Linked DNA regions of Homo sapiens: all the other regions are linked to region 3. Evidence: promoter capture Hi-C in 16 types of primary human blood cells and fetal thymus (Javierre and others, 2016). All regions are on one chromosome and are shown on one strand. Each heading gives the region's core, a stretch centred on a gene start or on the middle of the fragment in contact. The rest is flanking DNA. Distances are from core to core; before and after follow the strand shown.

Region 1 (3,867 bases), core at 451-2,950, 2.0 Mb before region 3:
GCACTTAACCTGTCTCATCACAGACATTTAAGTAGCTATTTTTAAATATCTTTTTCTTTTTAAAAATTTTTTAATTTTAATTATTTATTTATTTATGTATTTTTTGTGTGTGATAGAGTCTCACCATGTCACCTAGGCTGAAGTGCAAGGGCATGATCTTGGCTCACTGCAACTTCCACCTCCCAGGTTCAAGCAATTCTCCTGCCTCGGCCTCCCAAGTAGCTGGGATTACAGGCATCCGCCATTATGCCTGGCTAATTTTTGTATTTTTAGTAGTGACGGGGTTGTCACCATGTTGACCAGGCTGGTCTCGAACTCCTGACCTCAAGTGATCCACCCGCCTCAGCCTCCCAAAGTGCTGGGATTACAGGCGAGAGCCACCGCGCTTGGCCATTCTTTTTTTTTTAATAGGTGGTTTTTAGTATATACACAGAACTCTGTAACCTTCATCACGATCTAAGTTTTAAAATATTTCATCACCCTGAAAAGAAATCCCATATCATTAGCAGTCACTCCTCGTACCCTACCCTCTGGGGACCTAGTCAACCACTAATGTACCTTCTATCTCTATAGATTTGCCTATTCTGGACATTTCATATAAATGAAATCATATAATTCGTGGTCTTTTGTGACTGTCTCCTCACACTTAGCATAATATTTTCAAGGTTCACCCATGTTGTAGTATGTATCATTTCTTTTTATAGCTGAATAATATTCTATTGCATGAATATATCACATTTTATTCATCTATTCATCAGTCGATGGCTATCTAGGTTGTTCCCACTCTTTGGCCATTATAAATAATGCTGCTATGAACAGTCATACACAAGATTTTATGTGTACACACATTTCTTAGCTTTTTTTTTTTTTTTTTTTTGAGATGGAGTCTCACTCTGTCGCCCAGGCTGGAGTGCAGTGGCGCAATCTCAGCTCACTGCAAGCTCCGCCTCCCGGGTTCATGCCGTTCTCCTGCCTCAGCCTCCCGAGCAGCTGGGACTACAGGCACCTGCCATCACGCCCGGCTAATTTTTTGTATTTTTAGTAGAGACGGGGTTTCACCGTGTTAGCCAGGATGGTCTCAATCTCCTGACCTCGTGATCCGCCCGCCTCGGCCTCCCAAAGCGCTGGGATTACAGGCGTGAGCCACCGCGCCCAGCCCATTTCTTAGCTTTTTAAAAGATTTGTTTTGTCTCTATTAGCAGTGTGCATAAAAGAGATACCATAGCAGGCTGAGACTGCTATCCTTAGAAAGGCCTGTTACAAGTTTGGCCCCTGGCTTGTGCTTGCAACCTTGGATTTTCGGTGTGTTCCCACCATTCCCTATCTGATAAGGGTCATGTACTATGCCTAAACTGTCTGTACAAACAATGTGGTTTATGCTGAAAACTTGCCTTTCTTCTGGAGGGCTGCAATTTGGCTAGGCCAATGTGCCTATGTAACTGGCTCCCATAAAAACCCTGCATTCCTAGGCTCAGATGAGTTTCTCTGGCAGAAAACGTTCATCGCTGGAGACATTAAGCACATCCTGTGCAAGCTCTATGGGGAGAGGCCTCTTGGAAGCTTGTACCTACTTTCCTCCAGACTTCACCCGACACACCTTTTCCCTTTGCTGATTTTGCTCTATATCCTTTCAATGCGATAAGTTGTAGCTGTGAGTATGACTATATGCTGAGTCCTATGAAACCTTCTAGTGAATTACCAAACTTGGGGGTGTCTTTGAGGATCCCTCAATACAAGCAGATTATAAACTCCTTGAGGTCAAGGATGATACCCAATAATAAAATGTCACATGTCTGGAAAGTATACCTTCACCCTGAATAGATGAGGAAACCAAAGCTTATAAACCCTGAGAACAGAGGACATGAGGCCCATCCAGTACTCTGGGCTCCACATCCTGACACGTCTCCCCACGGCACCAGCAGAATGCCCATAAAGCACATGATTGATCCAAGCCCCCAGAGCTGGCCCACCATGAATGAATGCAATTGAAACTTCATTGAGTAGAATAAATGTTCCTAAACAATAAAGGAGTTTCTAAAATTGGGTGGGGCGGGGGAGTTCATACACACATGGAGGCTGAGAAAATAGGCAATAAATACTAGGAATGTTACACACAGTAGTTGAAGGATTATTTTGGAAAGATAATCTTTCCAAATTGTAAAAGCAATTATATATTGTTCAGCGTCATTCTGGGTTGGATCATTTGGTTGTCATTTCTGTCCTTTATTAATCTAATTCATAATCCCAGGCTGCAGGTAATGCAGGCCAATTGCAGTGAAATCAGAAGTGTCTTTCCGTTGTATTGGCCTTAATATTTGCTGAGGCTCTGTCACGGTCCAATCTCTGCTGGGTCCCTTTTGCATGTATTAGTGACAAAGGCTATTCATTACTTAATAGCTAGTGGCATAGGCCTTGGAATCAGCCTGGGTTCAAGCTCTAGCTTTGCCGCTTAACAGCTGGTGTTTTTGTTGTTGTTGTTGTTGTTGTTGTTTGTTTTGTTTTGTTTTGTTTTTGAGACAGAGTCTCACTCTGTCCCCAAGCTGGAGTGCAGTGATGTGATCTTGGCTCACTGCAGCCTCTGCTTCCCGGGTTCATGCAATTCTCCTGCCTCAGCCTCCCGAGTAGCTGGGATTACAGGCATACACCACTGTGCCAGTTAATTTTTGTATTTTTAGTACAGACAGGGTTTTGCCACGTTTCCCAGGCTGGTTTCAAACTCCCAGCCTCAAGTGATCTTCCCACCTCGGCCTCCCAAAGTGCTAGAATTACAGGCGTGAGCCACCGTGCCCAGCCAACAGCTGGTGGTCTTAATATCACAGTACCTGTTTCCACGCAAATGCACATAAAAGCCCTCAGAATACTGCCTGGCTCATTTAGTGTTAGCTATTTTTTTAAAAATCTGGTTAAATCATTATTATAACCCAGTGAGTCAGTAGTAACGCCTTTATCTTTAACAATGAGGAAATATCTTATGTATATTTTCTTTCCTAAAAGGTATAAATGTTGATCTTGCTAATGAGAGCAAAAATCCTATTTGATAACCTTTCTCAGAACCCACATGTGTCAGTGTTTTAAAAAACAAGTTGGGCCTGATCCCTCATGCCTGTAGTCCCAGCTGCTCAGGAGGTTGAGGCTGGAGATTGTTTGAGCCCAGGAATCTGAGGTTGTAGTGAGCTGTGACCGCACCACTGCACTTCAACCTGGGTGACAGAGCAAGACTTTGACTCTAAAAAAAAAGGAAAACAGATTTTTTCCTTTTAAGAATTGTTCTAAACTCTGACAATTAAGTGGAAACTTTTCCATTCTTCATGTAATTTCATTGGTGGCTCACTGATCTTCATCTGGTTCAAAATACTATTTTAGGATAGGTGAGATATGGCTCAGCTATAAGCCATGTGAAAAAAATCTGGAAATTTTTAATATTACAGGCTGATCATGAGCCAACAACATAATAAGGATGTTTGGTAAAATAGTAACAATCTTATATCCTATTTTTTTAAAAAAACATAGTGTTCGGAGCATGAATAGTACTCCCAGTGCAGTTCCAGTATAATATCACTGCAAAGTTCACCCTTAGCAAAGTGATGCAGTCATGAAGGAGCTAGACACAGGAACCCATAAAGAATGGTGCAAGGATTTAAAGGTGTTATGCCTGGGAAACATACAATTAAGGGGGTCATAATCTCCAAATGTCTTAAAAACTACAATGCAAAAGAAAGACTGGACGTATTTTTGTTATTTTAAAAGGCAGAACTGATAACAATTTGTATTTACATAACAATAAATTTCACTTCAAGGTAAAGACTTTTGGACAAGTAGATCTGACCCAAAATAGAAAAAGTTGGCTAACGAGATAGTAATCTCTGT
Region 2 (3,766 bases), core at 477-2,976, 1.7 Mb after region 3:
TAAAAAAAGAGAAAAAAAGCTTTCCTATTTCTTTTCAATTTAGTTTGTAGGAAGTCTGTTAGGACAATGTTAGGAAAATAAATTTACTTGCTTACAAAAACTAAGTATCTAGAGATCCCTGTATAAACTGCTAGGATAAAGAAAGGTTTTTACAATAGATATTTTCCTGGCACTTGTTTTATATAGTTGACCCTGAACACAGGATTAAACTGTGTGGATCCACTTATACTTGAATATACTTCTGCCTCTGCCACTCCCAGACAGTAAGACAATCCCTCCTTTTCAGCCCACTCAACATGAAAACTATGAAGATGAAGACCTTTATGATAATCCACTTCCAATTAATGAAGAGTCAATTATTTTCTCTTCCTTATAATTTTCTTGATAACATTTCCTTTTCTTTATTGTAAGAATACAGGATATAATACATTTAACACCCAAAATATGTGTTAACTGATAATTATGTTATCAGTAAGACTTCCAGTCAACAGTAGGCTATTAGTAGTTAAGTTGTTGGGGAGTCAAAAGTTATATGCAAACTTCTGACTGCCTGCAGAACCAGCACCCCTAACCCCCACATTGCTCAAGGGTCAACTGTACCTTCTATTAACGTTAACCAAACTGACAGGCATTTCAAAGTATCTTGAACATTTTTAAAATTAAGGTTTTCTTTCCCCCTGGTGTTCTACACATTCAGAGAAACTTCTCTATCTAGTAACAAACTATAGAAATAATCTCTGAAAGTGTAGTCTTAAAATTAAGTTTTTGATAAAGGATATTCCTCTGGTTACTACTTCAAGGGCTGGAGGGAGCTATAAAATATGACAGCCTTTTCACTTTGGCCAGAGGTTCCCACAAGATAACCTACCCAGAAGAAATATATTCTATCAAACCACTGGGCCAACATATGGCAAATCATAAACTTTGACATCTCTTTTCTCCTATACAGCCTCCTTGAACCAAATTTTTCTCTGTACAGTCTTCAAACTATACGGACAGAGAATCCTAGAAGTGGCTCAAAAATAATATAAATTTTATGTGCTTGGTTAGGCCACATGTATTTCCCAAAGCCAAAAGAAATCACACAGAACAGGAAAATGGAATCCAAGTATATTCAGTCCTTCTTACTTAGCATACATAAAAATGGCAATATTTTCACAGAAAAGGTAAAAATGCACACCATCTGATGCTTACCTTTCCTGCACCCATAAGTCTCAAGAACTTTTGTTTTCTCTCTTCATTACCCAAGTCTGCTGCCTCCCAATTGCTAGATCCCAGCTAGAAAAAAAATTGGTTGATTAAATTTTTTTTGCATAAAAATAAGTATTACGAAATCTAAAGTCTACCTGTAACTCTCAAGTTTTTTTCCCCTGTCAGTTGTAACTATAAACAGCGTTCATTTTTCTTGCTTAGGAAGTTAAGCATATTCATCACATTCAAATTTACTCCTTTTCTATTACCTCACAGCAGAATCCTTTAGTTCTCCTACAGCCAGAGCTGAGTCTCAAAAGTTTGCCTCTATCAGCGTCACCTAGAGGGCTTGTTAAAACAGACTGCAGGGCTACAGCCCCAGAGATTCAGCGGGTCTGGGGTGGAGCTCTAGGATTTGAATTTCAACAAATTCTTAAATGATTGCTGATGCTATTTATCTGGGGACCACACTTTGAGACCCACTGCCTCGCAGGGTAGGGTCCTAGAGCACCTAGTACTCTGAACTTAGATGGCAGCCACAGTTGTTAGTTGAAGTTAAAAATTCTGCCTTTATCAGTGAGCTAACTTTTAAGAGAGAAAATTTTAACTTTTCAGTTGCCTTTTTTTTTTTTTTTTTAGCAGTTCTAGTTACTTGTTAGGATTGAGATGTCATTACTTTTATTCTTTCTTAAAAGTCTTCCAAAGAACAAAGAGAAAACTTATTTTTTAAAAGAACAGACTAAAACTCATGCTATCTTGCAATTATCAAATGAGTCCACTGAACTCTTATAAATCTAAGAAATATGATGGAATCCTAGTGAGCGTATTTTTTCCCTACATTTTGAAACAAATGTAAAAACTGTTGTTTTTTAATAGTTTTTAATAGTTCATTATTTATAATTCATTATTTATAATTCATTATTCTCAACTATGCTAAAAATAACTAAATAGTTTTTAAGATATTAGTTTTCTCATTGTATTGTCCAAAGTATTTCATCATCATCTTTCAAGACATCATACCTGTTGTCTACTTTTAGCTTTCACTGAACACCGATGGGAATTCACAATTTTTCATTTTCCATTCATAATGGCAAAGAGAAAAAACTGACAGAAGGCATTAATCATTATTAGACGAAGAAGGTGAATGCAAAATGAAAGGCAGTCGTATTCTAGACTAATCATGATAAAATTAACTGCAAAAATCTCAGACTATGAGTTTTTGGATGAGGAAATATTAGAAGGCTTTTCTCCCACCCAAGAATTGACAAGAAAAAGAAAAAAAAGACAAACAAGAAATGTACTCTCACTGGGAGAGCCATCAGCAGGAAGGACTTCATCTTGCAATATTTCACAGTAAGAGCCAGGATCATCCCATTTTCTAAAAGGAGGTGTGAGTGTTTTATCTCATCTTTTACAATGTTTATGCATCAAAATTTACTTGATTTGGTTGCAAATGGACAAAGGGTGAAGGCAGATGTGTACACAAGGTGACTGGAAGGAAAATGAAATAAAAATATTCACCGAATTTATCATTCTAATTAAGTTTATAATCTAAAAATAAAAATGTTTTGCAATTATGGAGCAAGGATGACAATTACAAAATTGTAAGCAATAGGTTTCAAAAATTCCTCAAGTATTGTATTTTGATGATGCAAATCCGAGACAGGTTTGAACTTCAAGGGTCCCTTATAAGTGGATTTTTTTCAACCAAATGCAGATCCATCCCAAGTATATGGAAGGCTGATTTTTCCTATTCTCAGGTTCCACAGGGCTGGCTGCAGAACTTGAGTATGCAAGATTTGCCAAAGAGGTGGGTGGGTCCTGGAACCAATCCCCCACATTTAGCATACTGAAGGATGACTATATGTACATCAAAATCAGGAAAACAAAGAATATAAATTTCGGTTTGCTATTGTTAAATTCACATTAAAATTCCTAATAAAGTTGTTTTGCACTATCTCCCATTATTATTTCTAAAAATTATTTGTAAAAGACTAAAAGAATATTTAAAAAAACCACTATTTCCCCTGGGCATATGAGAGTTAAAGCATTTGTACCAACCTGGACCCATTTGCACTTCTAAATTCTCATTAGTGGAAGGGCTTATATGCTCTCATAATTTTGGTTCCCTAAGTTCCAAATCTCTACTTTTTTCCATGTGACCCCCCTCATATATTTTTATGGGCCATTTAGTTCTTAACTATTTCTGGCTCAATATAGTTAAAGTAATGGTGAAGCTTCAGTTCTGACAATCACTAAATCACTTGCTCTGTAAGCCAGGATCTGACATTTAACTTAATTTTAACTCCTTATCTATAAAGAGATGCCTTTTTAAAAGACTGTCTTAAGACACTGAGGCACAGAGAGGCTAAGTGACTTCCTTTGATCCTCTGACCATCCTGTGTTTTTTCCACATCATACTGTCCATGATCAAATGAGACAGATGAAAGTGGTCTATGAACTAGTTATAAAAATGTATAGAAGTTAAAAAATTGTGTAAAAACCAACTTTCTTGATTCTGCTTCTATTAAAAAACATTTTCAGTGTTTATATAAATAACTGTCATCTACAACTT
Region 3 (3,843 bases), core at 260-2,759:
AGCTGGGATTCAGACTTCAGACCTAATGAATGCCCCGAAGCAGACGCCAGCAACGTGAAGCCTAGCTGGCAGCCTCCCAGGTCTGGCGCGCAGCCAGCGCCAGACTTTAAATCGCAATACTAGAAACCAGGGCCTGTTAACCAACCGGGAGGGAGGCGCACGGTGTGGCTTCGGCCGTGATCCTTGTTGCAAAGGCCTGTCAGGCCCAGTATGAAGAAATAGTTTCAGTACAGGGAGTGTAGAAATAGCTGCAGAAGGCCTGAGGCCTGCAGCCCTAGAGTTAATAGCTACTTGGTGGAACCCTCGAATTCTTTCCACCTTGTTAATCCAACCCTGCACTGCATTCGCTGGAGGAAATATCACAGGCTGCATCCCCAAAGTATCACGTCTAGTTTTGACACCACTCCAAAGGGCAAAAATCCGAGAGGACCTCTAGGCAGGCAGTCAGCCCAGAGTCACCAAGCTGGAGCCGGGTCTCTCCTTACAAATCACTGCTATTTCTAGACAGCCTTGTAAGGTTTCTAGCCTGGCAGGGGGAAGGGAGTTCCTGCGGACACCTGCTAGCTTCACTGAACGGCCCCGGGATCCAATGCTACCTTTAATGTAGGGGCGGAGGTGGGAGGGCATGGGATGAGGGAAGGGTGCGTCTAGAGGCGAGAGACATGCAAAAACGAGTTCTACACCTCACCTCTGCCTCCTACTCACTGGGAACTTAGAGATCCCTGACTGTCTCCTAGCTTTCGGTCTCCCTATTTGTTAAAAGGAGGAGTTGGTACCGGCGGATCCTACTCAACTGACCGTCTGAGGTGCGGAAGGGCTGGGATGCTGCCTGCTTCATCTTTGCATGCGCCGTGCCTAGCGCAGCCCGAGATACACCAGTAGCTTCTTAATAAATGCGCAAAGGGCTCCCTATAATCTGCAGGCAGCAGCTGCCCTCACGGAGCCCACCTCTCGAGCGTCCCAAGAGAAAAATGCAAGCCGCGTGGTACTCAGCCGCTTTCCGTCTTTCAAGAACCCGCCCCGGACAAGCTGAGGCTTTTTTGGCTCTATGGGCTCCGAGAACTGGACCTCGAGTTTTGCACCGCCCGCCGATTTCGAGCCCAGAGGTATCCCCCACCCTTAAGGCCTATCATATCCTTGTTCCGCATCCACCCGGGCTTTCGACCCCTGCTTGGGTGCGGCCACCTCCTCGGTTCCCCAGCGTGGCCAGAAGCCATGGTTCCCGCTTAGAGCAAAAGCAGAGCGCGGCGAGCTCCGAACACATGCGTTGTGTGGGCCGCCGCCCAGACGTCTCTGGGCTGTGCTTCTGGAAAGCGGCTCCTACACCTCCCGGGAGCAGGAATCCCTTCGCGAGCAGCGGAGGCCAGCAGAACCAGAGGCAGTTGGCTCTACCCGCCCATCCCTCTGGCGCCGTGCGCGCAGGGCCCTACCGTACCGGGAATGCACGTCGGGCGGTCGTCGGGGGCGCGTGGCAATGAGATCCGGAATCGGCGGCAGCGGCTGCAGCACTCTGAGCTGGGCGCGGGAGGGGCCTTAAGTGGAACAGCTATGCTGACGTCAGCGGGGGGGGCCGGCGGACGTGCGGGAACCCACGTGTGAGTCGGGCTGGGGGTGGATGCCGAGCCAGGCGGGGCACTGGAGAGGCCCGGGTGGCGCGCGCAGCCAGACAACCGACCGGCAGACTGCTCCACGTGCGCTGGGAGTCTAAGTAAGGTGCTGCCCTCCAACCACAGAAGCCGGGGTCGGAGCCATGAGCCTGAGTCAGGACGACCTTCAGTTTCCTCATCCATGAAACCTGGGGAGGTTACTCTCAGGAAGGCTTGGATCTGTTTCTTCTTCATCCCTGTTTCTCAGTGTCCAGAACAGCTTCTGGCACGTAATAGGCACTCCACAAATATTTGTTGAACGAAAGGAAGAAAATGCCTAGCAGTCAGTCAGTCTGTTCTTACCTAAGTCGAGTGACCTCCAAAACTCGACGCTGCTTTTCCCTCTGCTGCTAAGCCTACCAGCTCCCACTCACAGTGAAGCCTTGGCCTCTCAGGCCTTGCAGGGTGACTCAGTTCAAATGTACATTTTATTCTGCACTTTCTACTGCCCACCCCACTGGCATCTCATCTCGAGTCTCAACCATACCCAAGAACTGTCAGTGGCTTGTTTTTTTGGTTTTGGTTTTTTGTTTGTTTATTTGTTTTTTGGTATTTTTCGAGACAGGGTCTCACTCTGTCACCCAGGCTGGAGGGCAGTGGCGTGATCATGGCTTCCTGCAGCCTCGACCTTCTGGCTCAAGCGATCCTCCCACCTCGGCTCCCCGAAGTGACTGGGACTACAAGCGCGCCCACTTGCCCTGCGATTTTTTTTTTAATTATTAATTTTTTTTTTTTTGAAACGGAGTCGCTCTGTCGCCCAGGCTGGAGTGCAGTGGGCTGATCTCGGCTCACTGCAACCTCCGCCTCCCGGGTTCAAGCGAATCTCCTGCCTCAGCCTCCTGAGAAGATGGGATTACAGCCAGGCGCCACCACGCCCGGCTAATTTTTGTAATTTTTAGTAGAGACGGGGTTTCACCATGTTGGTCAGGCTGATCTCAAACTCCTGGCCTCAAGTGATCTGGCCGCCTCGGCCTCACAAAGAGCTGGGATTACAGGCGTGAGCCACCGTGCCCAGCTCAATTTTTTGTTTTCTTATCATACTTACCTCTGGGCCTGTATTCTTGCTGATTCCATTGCCTAGCCCGCCCTCCTCCATCTCTTCTTTAATTTGTACCAATACTTCCCCACTGTGGGGTATATTATGAAATATATTTGGTAAGCCCTTGAGTATGCCAAAATTTCCTGAATTTTCTGATAGGAATGTCTTTTGTTATTTATAAAGAGCCTTTTTCCCTGACTTAATGTTAATGAATGAGGAGTCTTAGATAGCCTCAGGAAGGAGCCAGTCATGGGAAAGACCAAATGATTAGGGAATTAGAGGGCTGGAACTTTCAGCCCAAAGGGGTGGATGGCTTTACTTACTCCCTGAACCTACAGCAGCAGCCCAGTGCAGCTTTGAGATAGATCCATAACTGAGTTTCTTGGTTTTGACGGAAAACTCTAACCTCAGCTCCAAAATAGCACAAGGGGCCAGGTGCAGTGACTCATGCCTGTAATCCCAGCACCAATGTGGTTGAGGTGGGAGGACTGCTTGAGGCCAGGAGTTCGAGACTAGCCTGGGCAGCATAGTGAGACCCTGTCTCAAAAAAAAAAAAAAAATAGCAGGGCATGCTTGCATGTTCTAACAGTTTTCCCATCACTCTAGATTCTAAGATCACTCTAGGTTCTGAAATGGGGCTCTCACCTCAAACACACAGCTGGAAAGTTTAGGGGTGGGCCACTGATTCTTCAGAGTACCTCAGGGCAGGGCAGATTGCCACAGTGTTTTCCGGTTTCTCAGTCTTTGCAACAGTGTTCTCAGTCAGGGCTGGGCCCCTGCCTGCCTACCAAATGTGACCACTGCTGCTGGGAAGAGGTGTGCAGAAGGCAGAGAGCTGAAGTTGGCTGGGGAGACGAAGAATTTTCACCTGAAAGGCTTGGGTTGGGGCACTCTGAGATGACCTGTGAAGATAAACTAGGTAGAGTCTTCATTCCCCTAATTTATGATACCTAGCAACAGCTTGCTCCAAGCACAGCTTCAGGCTTCTTAGGCAGAACAACAGCCAGTATTTGACTCCACAAATATGAATAAAACAAATACCATTTACTGAGCACCTGCTATGGTGCTGGCAGCCAGCTAGGTAATCCCCATACTCATCCTTTGGAGTAGGCATAATTATCCCCATTTTTCAGATATGGAAACCAAGGCTCAGAAAGG

Evidence for each region. Contacts are between HindIII fragments. The CHiCAGO score rates a contact against its expected background, and 5 or more counts as called.
Region 1: a contact is called between a fragment that was not itself captured here and the fragment with the promoter of LDHA in region 3, in 1 of 17 cell types (neutrophils). The highest score is 6.5, in neutrophils.
Region 2: a fragment that was not itself captured here is called in contact with the fragment with the promoter of LDHA in region 3 in 1 of 17 cell types (monocytes); the score reaches 8.4 in monocytes.

The regions. Positions count from the first base shown.
Region 1 is chr11:20,377,682-20,381,548 of GRCh38, reverse strand. The region is part of intron 3 of HTATIP2 (HIV-1 Tat interactive protein 2); the gene reads right to left. Among named protein-coding and RNA genes, the nearest start is that of PRMT3, 8.1 kb to the left of the region's middle. The HindIII fragment of the contact is 276 bases long and covers 1,563-1,838 here.
Region 2 is chr11:16,742,113-16,745,878 of GRCh38, reverse strand. It overlaps C11orf58 (chromosome 11 open reading frame 58), which reads right to left. Exons shown (of 5, transcript NM_014267.6): 2 at 1,195-1,278. Among named protein-coding and RNA genes, the nearest start is that of C11orf58, 5.3 kb to the right of the region's middle. The HindIII fragment of the contact is 3,409 bases long and covers 22-3,430 here.
Region 3 is chr11:18,392,229-18,396,071 of GRCh38, reverse strand. It overlaps LDHA (lactate dehydrogenase A), which reads right to left and starts at 1,509. Exons shown (of 8, transcript NM_005566.4): 1 at 1,436-1,509. RefSeq lists enhancers at 1-149, 1,414-1,503, 884-1,549, 1,814-1,903, 1,550-2,214 and a silencer at 604-653. The HindIII fragment of the contact is 13,104 bases long and covers 1-3,843 here.